Linked DNA regions of Homo sapiens: region 1 is linked to region 2. Evidence: promoter capture Hi-C in human tissues and cell types (Jung and others, 2019). All regions are on one chromosome and are shown on one strand. Each heading gives the region's core, a stretch centred on a gene start or on the middle of the fragment in contact. The rest is flanking DNA. Distances are from core to core; before and after follow the strand shown. Region 1 overlaps LOC105370615 (a long non-coding RNA gene). Region 2 holds the start of CALM1 (calmodulin 1).

What was found. Contacts are between HindIII fragments. The study calls those that stand out against the background at their distance.
Region 1: a fragment that was not itself captured here is called in contact with the fragment with the promoter of CALM1 in region 2 in 1 of the 25 tissues and cell types used here (lymphoblastoid cells).

The regions. Positions count from the first base shown.
Region 1 is chr14:89,040,700-89,046,558 of GRCh38, reverse strand. LOC105370615 (a long non-coding RNA gene) reads right to left here. Exons shown (of 3, transcript XR_944128.3): 1 at 4,780-5,859; 2 at 3,596-3,941. Among named protein-coding and RNA genes, the nearest start is that of TRA-AGC15-1, 65 kb to the right of the region's middle. RefSeq lists enhancers at 5,053-5,609, 5,661-5,780. The HindIII fragment of the contact is 5,119 bases long and covers 1-4,263 here.
Region 2 is chr14:90,393,822-90,399,502 of GRCh38, reverse strand. It overlaps CALM1 (calmodulin 1), which reads right to left and starts at 2,474. Exons shown (of 6, transcript NM_006888.6): 1 at 2,270-2,474. The coding sequence starts at 2,272. RefSeq lists enhancers at 743-1,042, 2,213-2,262, 2,384-2,678 and silencers at 1,103-1,172, 1,213-1,282, 1,363-1,912, 1,923-2,082, 2,363-2,782. The HindIII fragment of the contact is 12,028 bases long and covers 1-5,681 here.

The DNA.
Region 1 (5,859 bases), core at 455-2,954, 1.4 Mb after region 2:
GTCTCTCCAGTTCTGGGGACAGCAGTGTGCCCTGAGCTCTCATTTCTGCTACAGATCTAAGAGTTCTTGATTTTCTAGTTTCTTTAGCTTTTTGCTTGTTTGGATGGAGTGGAAAGTTCAAGTGTTCTACATTCAACACTGGAAAACAATTCTTTTTGGCTTATTTCTTCAACTTTGTATAAATTGAATCACATTGTTTGCTTTTTTTTTTTTTTTTGAAATTTGCTTTCTTCACTCAACATCAGGGTTGAGATTCATACATGTGAATGGATGTGGCTGTGGTTACTTTATTTTCACAATAGCATTATATTACACTTTGTGACTACACCACAATTTATGCATCCATTCTTCCATTCTTGGCAAGTTGGGTTGAATGTGACTCCTAGTGCACATATGCAAGGGTTTTACTGGGTTTAGGGTATGTGCATCTTCCACCTTAAAAATAATGCCACGGCTGGGCGCGGTGGCTCACACCTGTAATCCCAGCAATTTGGAAGGCCTAGGCGGATGGATCACCTGAGGTCAGGAGTTCAAGACCAGCCTGGCCAACATGGCAAAACCCCATCTCAACTAAAAATACAAAAATTAGCTGGGCGTGGTGGCACGCGCTTGTAATCCCAGCTCCTCAGGAGGCTGAGGCATGAGAATCGCTTGAACCCGGGAGGTGGAGGATGCAGTGAGCCAAGATCACACCACTGTACTTTGGCCTGGGGAATAGAGCGAGACTCTGTCTCAAAAAAAACAAACAAACAAACAAAAAAAGCCAAACGGTTTTCCCAAAACAACAATTTATATTCCCATTAGCAGCATGTAAAAGTCCCCCTGGCTCTCTATCTTTGCCAACACTTGGTATTGCCAGATACTTTAAAAATATTCACCTGGGACAATGTGGTTATTAAATAGTAAGTAGCTCCTTGTCTTAAACTACCTTTTCTCAATGTACTGAGGTTGACCATTTTTTCAAATGTTTATTGGTCATTGTATGGTCTTTCCCAGAAGACCATACAATGTTGTCCTTTAAAAGATTGAATTGTCTGTCTTTTCTTTATTGATTTGTAGACTTCAGATATTCCAGATACTAATCCTTTGTTAAGTAGATGAAGCAGATCTCTTCTCTCTGTTTGTGACATATCTTTTAGTTTCTTTATAGTATTATATATTTTGATAGAAAAAGTTTATAATTTTAATGTAATCAAATTTATCACTCTATTCATTTATGGCTTCCTCTTTTGCCTTGTTTAGGAAATCTTTCTGTATATGCTGAGGTCATATGAATATTCTTCTATAATACAATTTTTTCTGTAATATGATTTTTAAACCATTTTAATGCCGTGGACCCTTTGTCATGTTGGTAAAGGTAAAAAATGAAACTCATAGAATTACAAAGAAAACCAATTATGCTGAAATATAGTTATTAAAATATTTAAAGTGATGATATATAACACATGTGCTCCTTCTTAATGCATTAAATATCAAGATTTAGCAGAATATCTAATAACTGCTGTAAATTTCCAAGTACTGAGTGCATAAATAATATTATGAGATACCTGCAATAACTATAATACGACATAAACCTATCTGTATTTTTATTAGTGGCAAAGTCACAGATACTGCAAGGCTACTATGGTCTGTTGTCCATGATCATAATTGAATCTTTAATTTTTCAGTTTGGGATTTGTGAAAATAAACATTAATTTTTTTCCTATCCATGATCATGAATGTACTGAATTATGCTCAACAAACCAGTGGATGTCTGTGGAACCCAGGTTAAAATCCTTTATATAATATATTCTAAATTTTTAAACTGTTCATCTTTCTCTTTTTTTATTTTATCAATAAGAATTTGTTTCTTTATAGTGTATATATTTATTTTTCCCCCTCTTTTTGACTAATTTATCCTTTCCCCTTTGGATCTGCAATATTAGTGCTGGCTTACATCACACTTCTATATGTGTTTCTGGGCTCTTTATTCCATTCTGATTTAGATTTTGATCTATGTAAATACCACATTGTCTTAATTACTATTGACTGTGAAGTAAGTCTGACATCTAATAGACAAGACTCCCTACTTTCTTTGTTGGCTCTTCTTCGTCCTTTGCTTTTTTATGCTAATTTTTTAAAAAGCTTGTCAAATTCCATGAAGAAAAGCCTATTTGAATGTTGATTGAACTGAACTGAATTTATAAACCATTTATTTATACCTTTTGATGAAATTTTATGTATTTTTTTCCATGAAAGACTTGTACCTCTTTCCCCCCACCACCACCCCGAGATGGAATCTTGCTCTGTCACCCAGGCTGGAGTGCAGTGGTGTGATCTTGGCTCACTGCAACCTTCACCTCCCCAGTTTAAGCAATTCTCCTGCCTCAGCCTCCTGAGTAGCTGGGATTACAGGTGTGTGCCACCACGCCTGGCTAATTTTTTTTTTTTTTTTTTTTTTTTTTTGGTATTTTTAGTAGAGACGGGGTTTCACTGTGTTGGCCAGGCTGGTCTTGAACTCCTAACCTCGTGATCCACCTGCCTTGGCCTCCCAAAGTGCTGGGATTACAGGCATGAGCCACCGTGCCCAGCCACACATCTTTTGACAGATCTACTCCTAGGTTTGTTCTCTCTCTGTCTCGCTCTTTCTCTCTGCCTCTCTCTTTCTCTCTGCCCACTTTTCCCCTACTTATTTGCTGCTGTTGCAACTGGAAACTGTTTTTTAAATTATATTTCTTATCTCTTTGTTGCTGGTGTATAGAAAATCAACTGCTTTTGAATATTGATCTTTTATCCCTTAAACTTACTAAACTCACTTATTAATGCTAATAATTTAGCTGTAGATTCCTTGAGTTTTTTTATGAAAATAATCTTTTTTTATTTTTAAATTATTATTATACTTTAAGTTTTAGGGTACATGTGCACAACGTGCAGGTTTGTTACATATGTATACATGTGCTATGTTGGTGTGCTTCACTCGTCATTTAGCACCTTCAGTGAATATCTGTTTTTCTTCTTTGATTCCAAGTGTTATATCTTTTGTTTCTTTTTCTTGGTTTATTGTTCTGGCTAGTACCCTCAGTACAGTATTGAATAGAAGTGGGGATTAAAAAAAAACTGTTAACCTTTAAGTATGATGTTTGTTACGGATGTTTGGTAGAAATTCTGCATTAGGTTGAAGAAATTTCTATTTCTAGTTCACTAATTTTTTAAAAAATCGTGAGTGGATGTTATTAGGTCTTTTTTTTGATTTTGTTCTTGAAGGCGATAAACAGGAAAGCATGTGTATATGCCAATGGAAAAGACCCACTAAGAAAAGGGAAATTGAGGATGCAAAAGAGAGGAAATAACCCAAACACAGAAAGTCATCGAGAAGGCTGAGGGTGGATTTGTATACATTTCTTTAATGATATAAAGCACTTAACATAATGCCTGGTCTATTAGTTTCCTATTGCTGTAACCAATTACCACAAACATAGTGTCTTAAATCAACACAAATTTATTATCTTACAGTTCTGGAGGTGAGAAGTCTAAAATTAGTTTCACTTGGCTAAAGTCAAGGTATAGGCAGTACTGCATTTCTCCCGGAGGTGCCACAGGAGAATATGCTTCTTACCTCTTCCAGCTTAGAGGCTGCCAACAATCCTTGGCTTGTGGCCCCGTCCTCCATCTTCAAAGCCAGTTGCACAGCATCTTCAAATCTGCTTCCATTATCACATTGACTTTTCCTTATATAAGAACCTTTGTCAATGATTAAGCCCATCAGATAATCCAGGATAGTCTCTCCATCTCAAAATCCTTAATTTGCCAAGAGCAGTAGTGCATCCCAGTAGTCCTAGCTACTCAGGAGGCTGAGGCAGGAGGATTGCTTGAGTCCAGGAGTTTGAGACTGTAGTGTGCTGTGATAATGTCTATGAACAGCCACTGCATTCCAGCCGAGGCAACATAGCAAGACCCTATCACTAAAATAAGAAAAAAAGAATCCTTAATTCAATCACATCTGCAAAATCCTTTTTGCCATATAGGGTAATATTCACAGGTTCCAGGGATTAGGATGTGGACATCTTTGGGGTTCATTATTCAGCCTCCCATACTCAGCATACATTGGATTAAACCATATACATTGGGTTTGTAGGTCAAAAAAGGTTCAATATTGGCGATTCCATGTGATTCCACCTAAGGGTTCTCAATATATAGGAGTTACTATTAATACCAATAACAAAAGAGGAGATAATTTTACCATAAACTGCCAGCTCTGGGCCTGTCCCTGTTGTCTGAGGAACAGTGTTTTGGGCAATTTCACCTGACTGTCTGTGTTTGCTGAGCCCTGGGTTTTTAGTACTTCCTGTACCTTAGTACTTCCTGTGTCACTGCCCTGGAAGCATAGGTAGGTTCCTCCCCAAGACCATTTGCCTCTCTACTATCCTGGAAGAAGCCTACTAAAGAACTGCAGAAAGAGACACTCCCTTCTGCCCAGCTACAGGGCTCTGTACTCCATAGCATCAACACTGCTGAGGAAAAAGCAGCTCCCAAAACTGTCCGTGTTGCAAATGTGTTTGGTGCGGTAAAAAGTCTGTGGCACTGACGCACTGTGCCATATTAAAGCCTGAAGCCAAAGGAAAAATAAAAATCAGTGATATTGAGCTTCTCTTTATTTCAAATCTGATTTTTTTTTTTACCATGGTTATTTTACATTTATTTTGACTTTTAAAAAATATTGCATTAAACTATTATTTATCCTGGCTACTAAGTTTTTTGGCATTCCCTTAAATTTTGCACCCAAGATTTCATTCTCCTCACCCTAATTCCCAACCTGGTCTGTGAGTTGGTATTTGCAGCTATTCTGTCTGATTGATGATCGTTTTGGAGGGACACTCCCGGCAAAAGTTCAAACTTTATCTGTAGAGGAAAACAAGGTGGTTAGGATTTACCGAAGTAATGAGAAGGAAAGTCACCCTCAACCTCTAAAATACCCCTTTTCCGAGTGACTCTCTTGGCTGCCAATTGCCTTCTCCAAGTGAAAAAGAATAAACTAATTTCATACCTATTCTGTCCAATAAAGCTCATTGTCCTACCTCCACCTCCAGTGGTAACAGACAGGAACAGTTCATTTTCCATTGCTAAGCAACGGCAAAAACAGCGCCCGGCATCTGTGCCCGGCCTCACCGGCTGATAGGGATCACTGTCTAAAGTTCTTGTTTGCATTTTGAAGTCAACAATAATTGCGGTTCTCTATTAGTGTTCATTAAGATGGTTTATGGCTGGACTAACTCCAATCTCCACTCAGCGGTTTGAATGCGTTGTCCTCCCAGGGAAAGAAATATTTGGCAATAAAAACCCTGCGTTTATTTCCTCCCCTCATTTCCCCTTGCTGGGCTGGGAAACGATGGTCACCATCCGCAGTTCCCTGGCCGGGGAGAACAAGGCGCCTGTTGAAGGTTGTGGAAGAGAGGGGTGGAGAGGAAGCCTCTGCCCTCCTGGAGCTGGCTTCCTTCCACTCCATGCTGAAAGTAGGCCAGTGGAGCAGAAGTCTGCTGGGGGAAGTGAGCTCTTGCTGTTCACTGGGGCGGAGAGCACTACCCTATTTTCCCAACGCCAGCCCTCAAGTGTGGAAAGAACCTTCCCAGCCTCTTTCCACGGACTCAGTGCCAGGGAGAAGCACTGCCCTGGGACGTGATCGGCTCCTGCCTCCCTGGCCCGGGACTGGGTCAAACAGTGGCCTCAGTGTGATGGCAGAAAGTTCCAGGCAGCTTGAAAGGGCCGCCCTTGGATGCAATTCCCAGGTGTTGACTCACCCGCGGCGGCTGAAAGGCTGCCAGCCCCGGCCAGCAGCAGGCCGGCACCTTTACGCAACCTCTCCTCATCCCCAGCTCTGAAAAT
Region 2 (5,681 bases), core at 1,225-3,724:
TTATATCCATTTTATGAGAAATAATTAAGTAGAAAAAATAAAGATACAGCAACTGGGTACGCCACCAACTTCATTTCCATGTAACAAATGCTTTCCAATCCTTTAAATTAGGCAGTTATTTGTTAAAAGCCTACCATTACAATGGCTAATGCCCTGGGTCAAACTATCCTATGATTCAGAAGCCAGGAAAAAATGGTACCATCTTACAAATGAAGTGTTACAAAACTGCAAAAATTAAGTACACAGAAAACTACACAATAATTATCAAACTATATATACTCCTCTCTTTTCTGGCAAAGAGTATCTACTAAATTTGCTGGAGAGTATTAACCCTACCTACCTTAAGAATGACATAAGAACTGTTCTTAATAAACACACTTCGTTGGAGGCAGTAATGGCCACGAAGGTAATTCACCTGCATTATTTGGTCTCCACTGAACCTGTGCCTCCAGCCGAGGGAACTCGAGACCTCAAGGAGAGCTAACGTGGATTTCTCTTTTAAAGAAGGATGCCTAAGAAGCCAATTACAAAATAAGTCCTAATAGAAAGCTGATGAAGTTTATACTCTTAAGTGAAAACTTTAACAGTAGGAATGGTGTTCCAATATATTGATTCTGGGTGAAAATTTGTTTTTACAAATTATAAACGGATCTTTCTTTCTACCTCAATCACTAAAAATTGGCTTTCTTTAAATGACGGAGACACGATGATTTACGTAACGCCAAGGCAACATCTGTCTTGTACAACAGGAAGCGCTGCCACACCTCGCAAGAGAAACTGTCACCTTATGGGGAGAACAGTCCCACCTCGCTACAGAACTCTCTTGTTAGAGGGGTTACCAGGAGCATCCAACTTTCTCGACAACGAAAACCTCCTCCCCCAAATGGCGCTAGCCCTGGGGGCAAAGGTGTACCAGAACCCTGCGGGGAACCATCTCCCCACCCGCCAAACCAGAAACGCAGTCGGTGATGTCAGCCCTGCACGCCGAGGAGGAAGGGGCTGTGGAAAACACACCCAGCGAGGCGCACAGTCGCATCTGGCAATCTAGAGGCTGCAGAGAAAGCAGAAACGTGGAGGGCATCTCTCTGCGGACTGGAAGTGGCGCGGGGCGAGGGACCGGGCAGGGCGCGTGCCCGGGGGCAGGCGTGGGGGGGAAGGCGGCCCCCGAGCGGGCGTCTGGACGCCGCCCCTCCTCGGCCAGGAGGGTCACCACCCCCGGCCCCCGCGCACCAGGGCTGAGGCCAAGGCCACCCGCACCTCCCACCCGCTTCTGCTCCCCCAGGCGACGAGCCCGCGGCGCCGCCGCCTCCTCCCGGAGCAGAAACTTTGCGTCTCTAATGGAAACCAAGCCGCGCGCCAGTTCCCTCCTCCCCCGCCGCCCCCCCCCCCCGCCCCAATTAGCGCGAGCCCAGCGCCTCCCGCGGGAAGTGCCTCCTGGTGCACCGAGGCTCACGCCCGCCCGCACTGCTGCACTGGGTGGGGGGCCGCAGGGTGCGAAAGCGGCAGGAACAAGCCACGGCCACACCGCAGGGCCCCGCCCGGGCGCAGGGCGGCCCGGCCGCCGCTTCCGCCCTCTCCGCCCCCAACCCCTCGCCTTCCTGCCCCCAACCCCACCCTTCCCCGGCTCCTTCCTTCCCAGCCCACGCCCGCGCCGCGCCCCCCGGGAAGAAGGAGGGGAGAGCGACCGAGGGAGGGCGCCCAGCAGGGCCGGCCAAAGTGGGGAGGTGGCGGGCGCTGACTGCGCCCCTCAACACCCGGCCGGAACAATGTGCGCCACCGGCCAGCTCCAGCCCATTCATTCTCCACTGCCCGCCCGACCTGCCACCTTCGCGCCGGCGGAGAAGCGGGGTGGGGAGGGGCGGGCCGGGGGGGGGGGTCTAGTGCCCGGCCCCGCCCGGCTCCCAGGCCGAAACGCTGCGCTGCAGGCAGCCCGGGTGCGGCGCTAGTGGATGCAGTGGGTGCGGGGCTGGGCGGGGGGCAGGGGGATTGGATGCAGAAACCCCCGCTGCAGTTGCGGCCGGAGCCCCTGCCCGTGGACGGCCTACGACCAAGTCCAGCTCCAAGGGGAACCAATAAATGAAGCTCCCTGGCAGAGGTCGCCGAGATGCAAATCCAAAATGCAACCTCCTTTAAGCGCAGCTGCTGCGTAACACTCAGAAAAGAAAAACCTCCAAGAACCAAAAACAAACAAAAAACAAACAAAACAACTAGAAATCTGGGAAGAAATCTCGGGCAGCTGCTACGCCGGCATTTGCCACTCCCGACCTACCATGGTGCGAGCGAAGGGAGGAAGAGCAGAGGGAGCGAGGGTGGCTGCACCAGCGCGGGGGCTGCGACGGCGGGGGTACCTCCGATGCCGCTGCTGCTGCTGCTGCTGCTAAGGCGCGCTGTGCGCTATGCCGCCGCCGCCGCCTGCGCCGCCGCCTGACTACGAGTAACGGCACGGCGTCCACGACACTCCCAGCACCACTGCCGGAGCGCGAGTCTGCGCCCCGCGATATATATATGGTGCGCCGTATCCCTCCGCCGCGGCGGAGCCGCCTCGCGCAGAGCGGCGCTGCGGCAGCCGGGCCTTGCCCGCCTGGTCCCGCCCCCGGGTTCGCCAGGCCTCCCGCCGCCCCCTGCGCGCCAGTCGCGGCGGCCCTACGCTGGGTCGGGGAAGCGTTCTAGGCTGGGCGCGCGGTCTCGGGTCAGGTGTGGCGGGGAGTCCTCAGGAGACGCCCACCCTGGGCGGGGGCGAAGACAGAGCGCCTGCTTAGTCCAACCTGGGGGCGGCCCAGAGCTTCGGAAGCCGTTCACTCCGCTACCTACCCCAGCCTCACCCCACCTGGGTGACCCTCCCACCTCAACATCTCCAACCGCTCCACTAGGGCTGCCGGCTCCCGCGTGCCCCTCGTCCTTGGGTCTGCAGCGGCCACTTCCAGTTTGGGGTGCTGCAGGAGGTCCTGAGAGTAGGGGGTCCGCGGGGAGGTGGAGGCAGATTGGCCACACTCCTTCAGCTGCCGAGGAGAGGGGTCTGCAGAGGACGAGGTAGTTGTCCTCCTGGAAGAAATTGGTCCTCTTCGGATTTTGGAGCAGTATCCGAGTCAAATTATTTATGCTCAGTTGCTAAATCTGTGTCATGCTGCGATGTTTAATCAGTCTTTAATGTTTTTACGTTTCCACTGAATATTTTTTAGGATGCCTGAATATTTCTCCCCTACTATTTTGTTCTTTTTCCTGGCGCCCGTCTTACTAAAATTAGTGTACCTGTGCAGCTTCTACAGACCTTAAACCCAGGCTTTAAATTTTTCGTAATTTTCCTGATCCTGAGAAGGGTCAGAGTCTTTATTCATAAATCCATAGAAACAAGGGAAAAAATAGATGCTTCAAATCCTCTGCATTACAAGTGGAACACACAGCCAATTGCCTCTCTTATGGAGCTAGATTGTATTTTAAACTACAGTTTTGATTATATTCCTTTTAAAAGACTATTTAAATCTTTAAATATACTAGTGTTTTCCATTTTTTATTATATTCCTTTTAAAATAATATTTAAATCTTTAAGTTTACTAGTGTTTTCCATTTTTCTGTAAAGTAGAGAAAGAACAATTTCAGCCAGTAATGTGAACCCCAGGACTTGTAAAAATCTAGACAAAATGCTGCAGTTTCTTTTCTTGCCAAGGCAGAACACAGAATTTGATCTTCTGTTTTACAGGGCCCGGGCAACAGTTGGAGGTTATCATTTGCTTACTGTTTCACAGAATATGGCAAAGTGTGTGATTAACATGCTGTGCTAGAAAGGGCTTTGCTTGCTTGTGTTTGTTTCTGCTTTCAACAAAGTCTGCAGGAATATGTTTTTTAAAAAAGGAAAAATGTACAGGCACATTGCAAATGCCACAGGACTTCTTGGGATAACCTTAGACAAGACGTCAGCATCTGTGGAGCTGTTCCTACTGATGTTCCTTCTGGAATGCCGCAGAAAGAGTGAACCTGCTGTTTAATTTAAAGAGAGGCTGCAGCAGCAAGCCAGGGGATGCTGCCTTCCCTCTGCAGATTAGAAAGACACTATTCACTTCACAAACCTGATCCTAATCCCTGCAAAAAAATAATAATAATACTCCTGGGCTCATAGGGGAAAACCTGAGTAGGAATAAAGCGTGCATACTAATGCGAGAGTTGGAGATAAGGAAATAGAAGAAAAGGGACTAATACAAATTAATTTTAAAGAATATGCAATAATCCAGTCAGTTACAAGCCTAAATGGCCAAACTCCTTATTAAAACTGCATCTTGGCCGGGCGCGGTGGCTCACACCTGTAATCCCAGCACTTGGGGAGGCCGAAGCAGGCGGATCACAAGGTCAGGAGATCGAGACCATCCTGGCCAACATAGTGAAACCTTGTCTCTACTAAAAATACAAAAATTAGCTGGGTGTGGTGGCGCGTGCCTGTAATCTCAGCTACTTTCAGTAGGCTGAGGCAGGAGAATCCCTTGAACCAGGGCATCGGAGGTTGCAGTGAGCCAAGATAGCGCCATCGCATTCCAGCCTGGTGACAGAGCGAGACTCCATCCAATAATAATAATAATACTAAAACTGCTTCTTTCCTAAGGGTATTGGTATTCTTTCTCTGGGGCTTTTCATATAGTAGTTAGTGAAATACATTTTTTCTTTTTTTTTTGAGACAGAGCCTCACTCTGTTGCCCAGGCTGGAGTGCAGTGGTGCAATCTCAGCTCACTGCAACCTTCGCCTTGTGGGTTCAAGCGATTCTCCTGCCTCAGCCCCCTGAGTAGCTGGGATTACAGGTACAGGTGCCTGCCACCACGCCTGGCTAATTTTTGTATTTTTAGTAGAGATGGGGTTTCACCATGTTGGCCAGGCTGGTCTCGAACTCCTGACTTCAAGTGATCCACCTGCCTCGGCCTCCCAAAGTGCTGGGATTACAGGTGTGAGCCACCGCTCCCAGCCAGTGAAATACATTTTAAAACATGATATGCATTGTATAAGTAGGGGGAAATAATGGCCTAGAAATGTGTTTAATTATTAAGGATCTACTCGTTTCTGATAGTCTTCCATTCCTTGTGATTATTTTGGTTAAGTTGCTACAATCTATGGTTTTGAAAGCCAAGCATTCTCTAAAATAATATTTTTCCTCTGTCATTAACCTTATTTCACCTAAATATAACATTTTGAAACTTTTTATGACTTTACTTGCTAAAAACTGTACATTTCAGAATCCTTTTACTTAGTATAGTAAAATTTATTTTCCTGATTCTTCATATTTTACAAACTAGAGTTCTATTTTGGTAATTCTTTAATGTATCAAAGCACATCTTTGCTTTCAAGTTCATCGGGTTTATAATGAGGTCATGCTTGCACAGTTTTATGGACATGCTTTTCACAGTTTGACACTCTGAAATATAAGAAGGTCAAGTGACTTGCCCAGGATCTTACTGTGAGTCAGGGATGGGGCATAAAATAGAGCTTGAGTCCTTGCTCAGGGGCTCTAATTTAGATAATATATTCGTGGTCTTGATATCCGAACATTTTAAAGGCCCAATGTTAGGGGTTTGTCTGTTTCATAAAGCAGATTCTTCTGACTGCCTATTTAGAAATCACTGGGTTTTCATTATCAAATAGACTGCTTTAAGTGAATACACGTCCTAATTTATGAAGAGATCAGCAATCAGGAGAATAAACC